Regions from separate parts of the Homo sapiens genome. Here region 1 is linked to region 2. The links are contacts of gene promoters, found by promoter capture Hi-C in human tissues and cell types (Jung and others, 2019). All regions are on one chromosome and are shown on one strand. Each heading gives the region's core, a stretch centred on a gene start or on the middle of the fragment in contact. The rest is flanking DNA. Distances are from core to core; before and after follow the strand shown.

Evidence for each region. Contacts are between HindIII fragments. The study calls those that stand out against the background at their distance.
Region 1: a fragment that was not itself captured here is called in contact with the fragment with the promoter of POM121L2 in region 2 in 1 of the 25 tissues and cell types used here (pancreas).

The regions. Positions count from the first base shown.
Region 1 is chr6:27,782,397-27,788,036 of GRCh38, reverse strand. No RefSeq gene overlaps it. Among named protein-coding and RNA genes, the nearest start is that of TRQ-CTG6-1, 6.2 kb to the left of the region's middle. The HindIII fragment of the contact is 6,049 bases long and covers 779-5,640 here.
Region 2 is chr6:27,308,694-27,314,999 of GRCh38, reverse strand. It overlaps POM121L2 (POM121 transmembrane nucleoporin like 2), which reads left to right and starts at 2,727. Exons shown (of 1, transcript NM_033482.4): 1 at 2,727-6,306. The coding sequence starts at 2,830. The coding sequence ends at 5,937. It overlaps LOC105375107, which reads right to left and starts at 2,831. Exons shown (of 3, transcript XM_011515048.2): 1 at 2,808-2,831; 2 at 2,386-2,677; 3 at 1,264-2,155. The coding sequence starts at 2,831. The coding sequence ends at 1,788. RefSeq lists a silencer at 2,376-2,670. The HindIII fragment of the contact is 18,009 bases long and covers 1-6,306 here.

The DNA of each region.
Region 1 (5,640 bases), core at 2,554-5,053, 470 kb before region 2:
TTAGGAGGCTAAGGGGGGGCGGATCACGAGATCAGGAGATCGAGACCATCCTGGCTAACACGGTGAAACCCCCGTCTCTACTAAAAATACAAAAAATTAGCCTGGCGTGGTGGCGGAAGCCTGTAGTCCCAGCTACTCCGGAGGCTAAGGCAGGAGAATGGGGTGAACCCGGGAGGCGGAACTTGCAGTGAGCCGAGCTCGCGCCACTGCACCCCAGCCTGGGTGACAGAGCGAGACTCCGTCTCAAAAAAAAAAAAAAAAATTATCACCGAGCTCAATCAAAGTAACTTTACTTGGGACTGCTGTTTCAACAGGATTAGTAATTTGCTAATCAGTTTTCTAGTTCCTAAATTCCTTTTGCTTATAAGCATTCAAATGAAATTGACACCACCATAACTGGTTTTCAAAAGCATTTAGGTCTTTTGAGGTTGCATCATGGTTTACATTTAATTATAAGCTGATTTATTTCCTAAAGAGAGAGTTTTTTCTGATTTTCTATTACCTCTGCTTTCTCATTAAAAACTAAAAGTAAAACCTGGATGCTGGGGAATGTAGTTCATTTGTAAGAAGGCTCACTGCCTCGTGAACTCAGATGGTTAGCAGCAAAAACAAAACAAAACAAAACAAAAATGGTCCCTGCAGAATTCAGACTTTCTGCGTGAAGTTTGCCCCAAATAGAAACACACACTTGAGAAAGTCTTTGATTTTAGCCTCATCAGAACAGCACAGGTGAGAATGTGCTTCCGTCATTGAGTTTCTCCGCCAAACAAACCCAGAACGAGGGTGGCTAAGAATTGTTCATGACTTGCAAGCACGGAGGCAGGAGAGAGAGTGAATTTCTCCTCCTGAAATTCCAAACTGTAAAACCCTGGAGGTGGCAAGGGAATGATCCTAACAAATGGGAAGATTTCAGACTTTTATGGGGAGACCTCATTATATTTCTCGTCTAAAACTAACAAGACACGAAAAATCTTTTCCAACACCAAAGGTGAAAATCATCCCAGCTGGTGTGACCTGGGGAAGTAAAGGTCAGTTTCCCAAATGCAGCGCATGTGAGAACGCATGACCTGCAATGTGACAATGACAGCTTTTCAGAGAGATGTCTACTTGCACTACCAGGGCCTTGCACCCCCCAGCCCCTGGCCAGACTTTCCCTTGAGCAAAGCAGCGATGTGGACAGCAGAACGTAGTCTTTCTGAGAAGTGGAAAGGAGTCAGGATTACTGAGAGGACAAGCTCTCCTTTGTGAAGCCTTGGGAATGAAATGGCTGGTGAATGGAAAACAGGTTCCTTGTAAGTCTTTGCTTACTATGGGTGAGGCCTCAAAATGTTCCATTCATTTCCACAAACTTTTGATAACTCCTCCAGGTGCTGGTCACTGAAGCAGATGAGGCCTCTGCAAATAACGACTAAATGTATACAACTAAATATAGAATCGCACGTGTGGATCTCTTTCTCCAGAGGACACTGGCCAAAAATCATGTGAACGAGAACCTTTTTCCATCGTGAATTCAATCCTTACCATGCAAACAGGTTCCCATCTTTCAGTGACTCCACAAGCTCTTCTATTTTAATCATGGTTAAACACGTGCCCTTTAAAAGCAAGCAGGGTTGGGATTAGTGAAGAAGGAAGAATGGAGAGAAGAAATTTGGGAACAACCAGTGCAGACAGCCTTGGGACAAAATGTAAAACTGAGCCATCCTGGGTTCTGGTGAAGATCATAACTAGGTGAAAGTCTTACCCCCAGCAAAGTGTTGATGAACTCTTATCCTGATCTAGGCACTGTGTTAAGCAATGGGGACTCTAAAGGGAACAAGATCTCAAGACTGGTCCCTGCACTGGGATAGCTTGCTGGAGGGTAAGAGAGAGACATTAAAAAGAAACTAAAACGTGTGGTGTTATGATGAGGGCAGTTTGGGTGCTGAGAAATTATAGATGGAGGCAGCTAAGCTGAGATAATGGAAGCCAGAGAAGCCTCATTAAAGTCAAGTTGAGATCGGAGGAATGAGAACTGAACTAAAGCAAATAAAGTGAGGGCAGAGGAGAGGGCTAAAGAGTGTTGTGGGAGGTGGAGTTTGGGCAGAAAAAAAATTCACCATAGCTCATGCTTGGAAGTCAAGTGTGAGAACTGACGGTGGAGATGCAGCAGGTTAAGGGAGCATCATCAAAGTATAAAGTGTTCCCTGGCTTCCCCACTTATTTACTAGTCTGCACACAACATTCTATTTTAAGCAAGAGTCCTCCCTTTTCTCCATTTTACTTAAATGTCTATCATTGATATGGACTCATGGAATCTTTTCTCCCCAGTGATTTATAACTCATTATTGTCCTTAATTATATTGATGTTCAACTTTACCCATATTTAATTAGGGAGAGCCCCTTTTTGGGAACATAGCCTCTTGCCTTGCAGGAGTAAAGCCATCTTGAAGTAAAACAATCATAATGACTAATATTTGACTCCTGCATACCAAGGTATTCTGCAGCAAGGTCAAAAACAATGTATGTAGCATGAATAACCCCTCATAAAATTGCTTATCTAACTTCCCCAGTGGCCATGGGTTTTGCGAGACAGTCTGAGGTGTAATCAGCTGTTCATATTTTACCCTAAAAGCTTGCTATAGAAAGGATACTTTCTGCAGGGTGAGTGCAGGGATCCACCCTCTCGGGCTGCAGCCCAAGATGTGGTTTCTGTTTGTAAGTCTTTATTAAATGTTTCTTTCTGAGAAACTGGATTTGTCAAACTTTGTTTGGCCTCTCATCTCCCTGGGACTTTGGAGGTTGCTTTGCCTGTACCTGCTCATAGTGGAAAACCATTCGAGTGGCCTCTGGATCCTTGTAGCTTGCTACTATCATTTTTTTTTTTTATTTTAATGAGACGGAGTCTCACTCTGTCGCCAGGCTGGAGTGCAGTGGTGCCATCTTGGCTCACTACAATCTCCACCTCCCTGGTTCAAGGGATTCTCCTGCCTCAGCCTCCCGATTAGCTGGGATTACAGGCGCATGCCACCACTCCCAGCTAATTTTTCTTGTATTTTTAGTTGAGATGGGTTTTCACCACGTTGACCAGGATGGTCACGATCTCCTGACCTTGTGATCCGCCTGCCTCGGCCCCCCAAAGTGCCACAATCATTCTTTTGAACATGTTCTTATTTTCTGCATAACAAGTTGTTCCAGACTTAATTTGCATCTACCCTGCCCCAGCCCAAAATTCAGCCATTTCTCAGTACTTTCCTGATTTCTTTCAGTGGGGAAGAGTATTAGAGAGGAATATCCGGGGGCATAGTGTACTAACTGCTTCTATGATATTTGCTTCTTGGTCCTTTTAATGGAAACACCTAGGAAATACATGTGCATGTATACACATATAATCATATATACTTACACATGTGCATGTGCATATATACACATATGCGCATGTATTCATGCCCATACAAATACATATACATATTTTAGAAATCATGAGCTCGGCTTGGTGAGGTGGCTTACGCCTTTAATCTCAGCACTTTGGGAAGCCAAGGCAGATGGATCACCTGAGCTCAGGAGCTCGAAACCAGGCTGGGCAACACGGTGAAACCTCGCCTCTACTAAAATACAAAAAATTAGGTGAGCATGGTGGCATGTGCCTGTAATTCCAGCTACTCGGGAGGCTGAGGCAGGAGAATCGCTTGAACCTGGGAGGCGGGGGTTGCAGTGAGCCGAGATCACGCCACTGCACTCCAGCCTGGGGGACAGAGACCCTGTCTCCAAAAAAAAATAAAATGATAATAAAATAATAAAAAATAATAAAAAATAAAAAAAATCATGAGCTCACACCCATACCTCCCATTTCAATCCATTCATCTCTTCAGGATTCTTTCTTATATTCTCCCATTCTATATTTGTATGTGTCCCTTTTTCCACATTGAGACCCCTAATTCCAACAAGATTAGCATATTTACTCACCTGCTGTATCATATAATACACATACAATAGTTTTGGAATTGCTTTGCCCATCTACTAACAAAAACTATCCATTAAAAGAGGTTCAGTAGGTGATTGTAACAACTAACCAAATAAATAAATAGAGTTAAAGATTTGTTTGCATTTCTCCATACACACACCCCTGTCTCCTTACCATCCTCACTCTCTTGGCCAAAGAGTGAAGGTGTACTGTCAAATGCCCTGTCCACAAATTATGTTATTTTCCTTTCCATGTAGTCGTACTATGGAATAAAATTGAGTTCATTTGCTTTAACTTGCTTTCAACCTTAGTTTTCTCCACTACCCATCCTTACTTAACAGTTTTTGAAAATGTAGGTTGGCCGGGCACGGTGGCTCATGCCTGTAATTGCAGCACTTTGGGAGGCTGAGGTGGGTGGATCACCTGAGGTCAGGAGTTCAAGACCAGCCTGGCCAATATGGTGACACCTCATCTGTATTAAAAATACAAAAACTAGCCAGGTAAGGTGGCACGTGCCTGTAATCCCAGCTGCTCGGGAGGCTGAGGCAAGAGAATCATTTGAACCTGAGAGGCGGAGATTGCAGTGAGCCCATATCGCTCCACTGCACTCCAGTGTGGGTGACGCAGTCAGACTCTGTCTCAAAAAAAAGAAAAAAAAAAAGGTAAAGCATTCACACGCTTTCAAAAGTTAAAGGTCTAACAAAAGGTAAACTCAGAGAAGTGGCCTCCCATATCCCTTGCACTCCATTTCCCCCAAGTCTCTTACCACCAACACCATTTTAGGTAACTGTTAACGGTGGAGGGTGTGCAGGTTCTGGCGTCTTAAACGAAGAATTGGACAAAACTCACAAACAAAGCAATGAAGGAATTAAGGGTTTTATTGAAAATGAAAGTACACTCCACAGTGTGGGAGTGGACCTGAACCTAGGGGCTCAAAGGCCCCGTTACAGAATTTTCAGGAGTTTAACCCCTAGAGAATTCTTATTTGTTACTTCGGAAGCCCTATATAAACAGACAGGATGAGGTAAAGTTACAAAGTCATTTACAGCATATGCCCTATGGAGAGGATATTTCCTTTTATAGCTGAAGTATGAATTGGCCTTATGTTCCCTGCCTCCAGACCTTATTTTCCTGTCTCATTTCCTCCCTGAGAGATGTGATCCCCATAAATCTTTATGGGAGGCAGAGGGACTGATGGTCTTTTTTCTGTAACTGCTTCATGCTACCTTGGGGCGTAGTCCCTACCTATTGTGGATCATGGAACTCTCTCCCTGTTCTGTCTAGTGAAGGCAAGGTAGCTTCTTGATGGCCAGGGGTGGTGTCTTCACATGGAGGTGGCTGGAACCTTTGTTTCATGATCATCTGAAGCTTGATGATTTCTAAGCAAGAGGAAATGAATTTGGTTAAAAGATTTAATGGGAACTTCGGGGGTGGATACCTATGCTCTCAGAAATGTTTGTTATAGAGGTTTGCAGGAGAAAAAACAAAACCTGGTTTGTTCTAGAAATCTATGTGTTTCCTTAAAGTCTTAGCAGAAGTGACTCCCTTTTGGTTTGGTTTGGTTTGTTGGGGCCTAGTGCATAAGCCTAGTCCGAAACAATGGCCTTCCAGAATTTTGTTAAAAAAATTTCCCCTTTTTGGTCAGGTTCTCAGGTGAGAGTGTAACCAAAACTTAGGGCCTTAGTGCTGCTCTCAGTTAC
Region 2 (6,306 bases), core at 1,478-3,977:
AATCTCAATCCCATATAGCTCTTTCTCCTATTTCTCCCTTTTAATCATATTATTGTTATAAATATTACAACTATAAATATTACAAACCTAACATTATTACAATTATTAATTTATATAATTTTATGTGTTTTAAATAAGGTGAGAGAAACAAAAGGAGAAAAAATTGTGTGTGTGTATATATATATAGCTTATTCTATATTAATCTTATTATTTATCATTTCTGGTTTCTTTATTTATTCCTATAAATTTGTCTTACTATCAGGAGTTATTTCCTTAGCCCAGTGCAGCTTTCTTCTCACCCACCTCCTTTGTGCTGTTATTAGCAGATATATTACATTTCTATACGCTATAGGCCCTCATAGCATACGGTTTTGTACATAATATGCATATTGTTTTGTACAATTACTTTTTGAATCAGTTAAGATAAGAACACATTTATACTGTCTTTTATAATTGCGTGATTACCTTTACCAGTGCTCTTGTTTTAAATGTGTGTTTGAATTACCAGATGGTGTCACCTTCAGTCTGAATAATTTCCTTTAGTATTTCTAAGGCAGGTCTTCTAACAACAAATTCTCTGTTTTTGTTTATGTGGGAATGTCTTTATTTTGCTTTCATTTTTGAAAGGTAGCTTTGTTAGATGTAGAACTTTGGGGTGACAGTATTTTTTGTTGAACACTGAATATCTTATCCCACTGCCTCTGGCCTCCATTGTTTCACATGAGAAGTCAGTTGTTAATTTGTTTAGGGTTCTTCTGTAAGTGATGAGTCATTTTTCTCTTGTTACTTTCAAGATTTTCTCTTTGTCTTTGTCTTTCAGCGCTTTTACTTGACATGTCTGTTTGTGGAACTCTTTGTATAATCCTATGTAGAATTTGTTGCGCTTTCTGGACATGTAGATTAATGTTTTTCAATTAGATTGGGAAGTTTTCAGCCACTCTCTTTGACAATTTTTTCTACTCCTTTCTCTCTTTCCTTTCCTAGTGCTTTCATTTTGTGTATGTTGGTGTGCTTAATGGTATCCCACATTTCTTTACCACCTCTCCTGCAACCACGGTTGCACTCTGTTTGCTATCTCTATTGTTTTGCCTTTTCCAGATTGTCATATATTTGAAGTCATATGTAGCCTTTTCAGATGGTTCCATTCACTTAGCAATATGGATTTTAGGTTCCTCTATATCTTTTCGTGACTTGATAGTGCATTTCTTTTTAGTGTTGAATAATATTCCATTGTATGGTTATGCCACAGTTTATTCATTTGCCTGTTGAAGGACTTCTTGGTTGCTTCCAATTTTTGGCAACTATGAATAAAACTTCTATAAACATTCACATGCAGGTCCTTATGTGGACATTCACTTTAAGCTCATTTGGATAAACACGTGGATTGTGGTGGTTGAATTGTATTGTAGGACTGTGTTTTAGCTTTGTAAGAAATTGCCATACTGTCCTCCAAAGTGGCTGTACCATTTTGCATTCTCATCAGTAATGAATGAGAGTACCTGTTACTCCACCTCCTCCTTAGCATGTGGTGTTTTGAATTTTAGCCAATTGAATGGTGTGTAGTAATATCTTACTGATGTTTAATTTGCAATTATGGTATCTTACTGATGTTTAAATTGCAATCAGAAGTATTTACTGATGTTTAGTTATATATAGCTAAATATTGACATATAGCATATGTCAATGATGTTTGGCATCTTTTTATACTGTTTACCATCTGCATATCTTCTTTGGCGGGGTTTCTGTTTAAATATTTTGCCCATTAATTTTTTACCTTATTATGAGTTTTAACATTCTATGTATATTTTGTATACCAGTGCTTCAGCAGATACATACGTATTATGCAAATATTTTCTCCAGTCTGTGGCGTGTCTTTTCATTCTCTTAACAGTGTCTTTCACAGAGCAGAAGAGAACAGGAGGTGGCCTGAGCAAGGGACTGAGCCAAGTGCTTGTGGAGGGCTCAGGTTCTGGGCCGTAAGATGCGATTTCCCATTCGCCCACTCCGGATCTCTGAGGCCACTCCTGACGGCAATCTGCATGAGTTCTCCAAGTGCGAATAGGAAGGAAACCTGGATTCGGCCGCTGGGAGACACAGGTGGATCTCAAAGGTGGCTGTGCGGCAAATGACTGACACCTACTGGCGGCGTCACGATCTGCAAAAAAAGAGAAACGCGGAAATCCTCAATCAGCTGCTTTCCCGACTGCTAGTGCCACAAATGCCATCCGGGCGGCACAGCCACCGGTCCAGATCTCCAGTCCTGAGCACCTGCGAAAGCCGCCCGCACTCACTCTACGGGGTGCGGATAGTGCTCCCCACTCAGACTCCGGGGATCCCGCGGGCCGACAGATCTGCGCCGGGGCCCTGAGCCGCCTGAGCCTGTACCTTCGAGGCCAGTAATAGTCGGAGCCTGGAAACTGTGCACCCACTCGATTCCAGCTCTGCGCCACTTGGTGAATCCGGACCACAGGGTCCCAGACAGCCGCTGCCGACGCCAGGGGCGAGGCGCAGTGAGCTTCCTCTCGAGTTCCTCTCCCCGCGCCAAGTACTGCAACTCGCTGCGGAGACAGCAGAGGTCTGACCGCCCCGCTGAGGTCTCAGAACAGCAAAGCAAGTTACTGGGACTGCCGAAGTCCCGCGTGTCCCCCGTTCCCGCGGGTGCCGGGCCTGGAGAGTGCTAAGCACCCTGAGACTCGCGCTTTCCTAGCGCGTGAATCCCAACCGTCAACCGAACACTGCGCTCTTCGACTCTGTCCGATTCTGCAGACGTCCGAAACCTCGGAAGCCAAAACCGTGCTTGAACTCACTGCCCGCGCCTCATCTCTCCTCATGGGCAGTTTCCTGAGCAAACTGGAACTTTCGCCCTCGTCCCCAGCCCAGGTGCGCACCGACTTGCCCGAGAGGCCCACGAAACGCCGGCCACCTCAGCCCCTTCACCAAGTTCATCGGGTTCAGTTCGTCCACCGCGCCCACCCTGCCCCACGGTATAGACCTGTGAGGAGGCGGCCAAACCTGGATCCTGCCAATCCAACCACGTGGCTGGCCAACGAGGCCTGGAGGCGCTTTCCCATGAAGAAGTCCCAGAATTCCCCCCTGGGGCCTCTCCCTTCAGACTGGTGGGAAAGTTACTTAAAGCGGACTATTTGGTCTCTTCGACATCCCAGGCCAATTTGGAGCCCAGTGACCATCAGGATCACTCCTCCTGACCAGAGAGTGCCCCCTTCCACTTCTCCTGAAGATGTAATTGCCCTTGCAGGACTCCCGCCCTCTGAGGAGCTCGCAGATCCATGTTCAAAGGAGACAGTGTTGAGGGCCCTCAGAGAGTGCAGAAAAGGGAAAGGGAGGTTGGAAGAACCACTATTCCCTGAGAGTCTGGACAGTAAGAGAAGGAGTCCAGAGACCAGACCATCGGCATTTAAGCCCCTGATGAAAAATGGAACCCTCACTTCTTTTGTGCCCAGGCCTGGGCCGCTGAAGAGAAGTCTCCACTCCTGGGGCTCAGATCACAGCTTGACTAAGAGGCCCAATTGCTCCTCCATGAGCTCCTTGGCCAGCATATACAGAGGTGGCACCCTCAGCTCCAAAAGGAATGCTATTGGCAGCTCTTACAGCTCTTGCAGAAATTTCTCAGACCCTTGGAAGAGAAGTGTTCCCAGTGTATCATTCGAGACACCAGAGTGGCCAATAAAAAAGGAAAAAAGTTGTCATCGGCCTTCCTCTCCAGTCCCACTGGTATCAGATTTTGAGTCCCTAGGAGGATCTGAAAGTTCTGGGCAGCAAAACCAGAAGATTCCACAGCTGCCGTCTAGCCCTGAGAACCTGGTGTCAGAGATCCCACCTCCCCAGCTTGGTTATGCAGTCTCTGATGAGAACTTGACTTTGGGGAAGAAAGCTGAGCTACAGGTAAGCAACAACGCAGGAGAAGATACAACTGAGGTCAACACAGACCCTTTCCCTGAGACTTGGCTTGCTATTCAGCCTTCCTTGTCTCTTGCTCTGCCTTCTTCAGAAACAGATCTAACCCAGGGAGCAAATCCTCAGTTGGAAAACTTAAGAAAAATGCAGAAGTCTCTAGGTCCACTGGCCTCTCCACAGTCCACGGGAGAGGCAACCAGTGTGGCCCATTCTCCTTTGAAGACACCCAGCCTACCGACCCCACCTGGGTGCTCACAGTCAGAGCTCCTTCCAGGCACCTCTCCAGACTCAAAGCCCACAGCTACTTTCATCCTGCTGACCCCCACCTCTCCCACATTACCAGTTACTGACACCACCTGGCCGCCTTCAACCTCTCAGGCTGACAGGTCTCCCATGCCCCCAGACCCACCTGCACCACCCACCATCCAAAGTACTTTGCTTGGAATGGTGAGTAGCCCAACATCCCATCTTTCTGCATCTGCACCTCCTGATGCAACTTCTGCTCACCTCATGTTAAAACCGATTTTGGGGCCCCTGCACAACAGCGAGATTGGAAGCTCCTCATATTCCAGAATTTCAGTCACAGCTGCAGCATCTTCAATCTCTTCCCTTTCCACAATTCAGGGTACCTTAACTCCTACCTTCAAGCCTATCTTTGGCAGCATAGATCCACTTAAAACTACGCCCATGATAGCTCCTTTCTCCTCCAAGCAGACCCCTCCTCCATTTACTCATGCTTCTACCCATCATTTCCATGGCCTGGTCAAGGCCACCTCTGTGGTCATGTCCACCACCCTAGCCAGCACATCTAAAGACTCTGTTTTTAAGCCACCTTTGGATTTTGGTGTAGTGAATGTCACCAGTGCCGTAGGCAACACTTATTCTGTCCCTTCCACTTGCGACACTTTCCTGCTTGGGACTGCTCAGGCCTTCAGGGCCGACTTCACCCCAGCCACAGGATTCATTTTCCCACCACACCACCATCCTACAATTCCTACTGTGCATACAGTCACCATGTTTACCCAGGTCCTTTCCAGTGTTGTACAGATATCCCCTAGAAGCAGCACTGCTAATTTCAGGGGTATGGGCAGCCCTCTGCCTGCCTCTGCCCTAGTATCCACAAACTGGCTTGCATCAACCCCCAGCATCTCCAACCTGACTCCAGCAATCACAAGTCCCTTGGGATCAAGCTCAAGGCCACCTTTCCCACTATCCCAAGGAGCTAATCCCCAGCCTGCATTTGGTGCCACAAATGGACAGAAACAAGGGCCTTCCCAGCCAGCCCTTATGCCAAGTGTCAGTAGTTCTTTTCTTTTTGGGAGCTCAGCAGTGGCATTGCCAACCCCCATGCCAACTCCAGCTCAGCCAGCCTTCATTAGTACCACACAGTCAGCCTTGGGGTGTTTGACACCCTCAGCCTCCACCTCTCAAACCCCTGCCAGCACCTGGTCAGGCATTGGCGGCATTCCAGCAGGTTTTCCCATTAGTCAAGCTAGTACAACTGGGTTTAGAATTGTAATTCAGACCCACCAAAGTGGGGCTTTTGGCTCAGTGTTTGGCAGCAGAGCTCCACAACCTTTCACTTTTGGGGGATTCGTGACCCCTATGGACTGTGATGAGTCTGGGATCATAATGACTGGTCCAGACATGAGCCCCACCTCTGGAGCTTTCAGCATTGGAGCATTGCCTAGTGGGACCACTAACACCATGATCCCCTTTGGAAAAGGCTGGAGCCAGAACACTGAAGGCCTGCCCAGCCACCGCACAGCTTTTTCCTTGGGGAGAGGCAGCATTTCTGCAAGAAAGACTATGGCCCCCATTGCTCAAAACACCCCAGTCCCTGGACAAGCTAAGGCAGGCAGCAGTGTTGGCTTTGGGATGCCTTTTCCACCTGCCCAGGGCTCTGTTGGGAGAGGACCTTTTAGATCATCAGCCTCTTCATTTTCCATTGGCGCAAAATCAAAAACCCCAAAGAATCGGGAGAAAGGGCATTCCCGAAGGCATCATGCCTACAAGAAGTAGCCTGTGTTCCCTGTCACTTGCACCCTGATTTAGACCTCAGTATTGTTTTTGAAAAACCTCAGTGTCTTCCAATTTTCTAAAGTAAACATACTCCAGATCTAAAACTGGAGCTTTAGATGTTCACACTGTGTGTCCTAATCTACATCCTTGACGAAAGTGAAGGACTAAACCATCTAGTGCTGATTGCAGATTGAGGCCAGGTGGAACCAAACCCATTGGACTTGAACAGAACCTCGCCTTCCCCTTCCTGTCCACTCTTCTCTGTGTCAGGTGTGCAGTGTGCACAGCAGCAGGATCTATAATATCCAGACTTTCCAAATAAGTTGAATGTCTATCAATTAGAACATCTTTTCGTACATCCTGCCATCC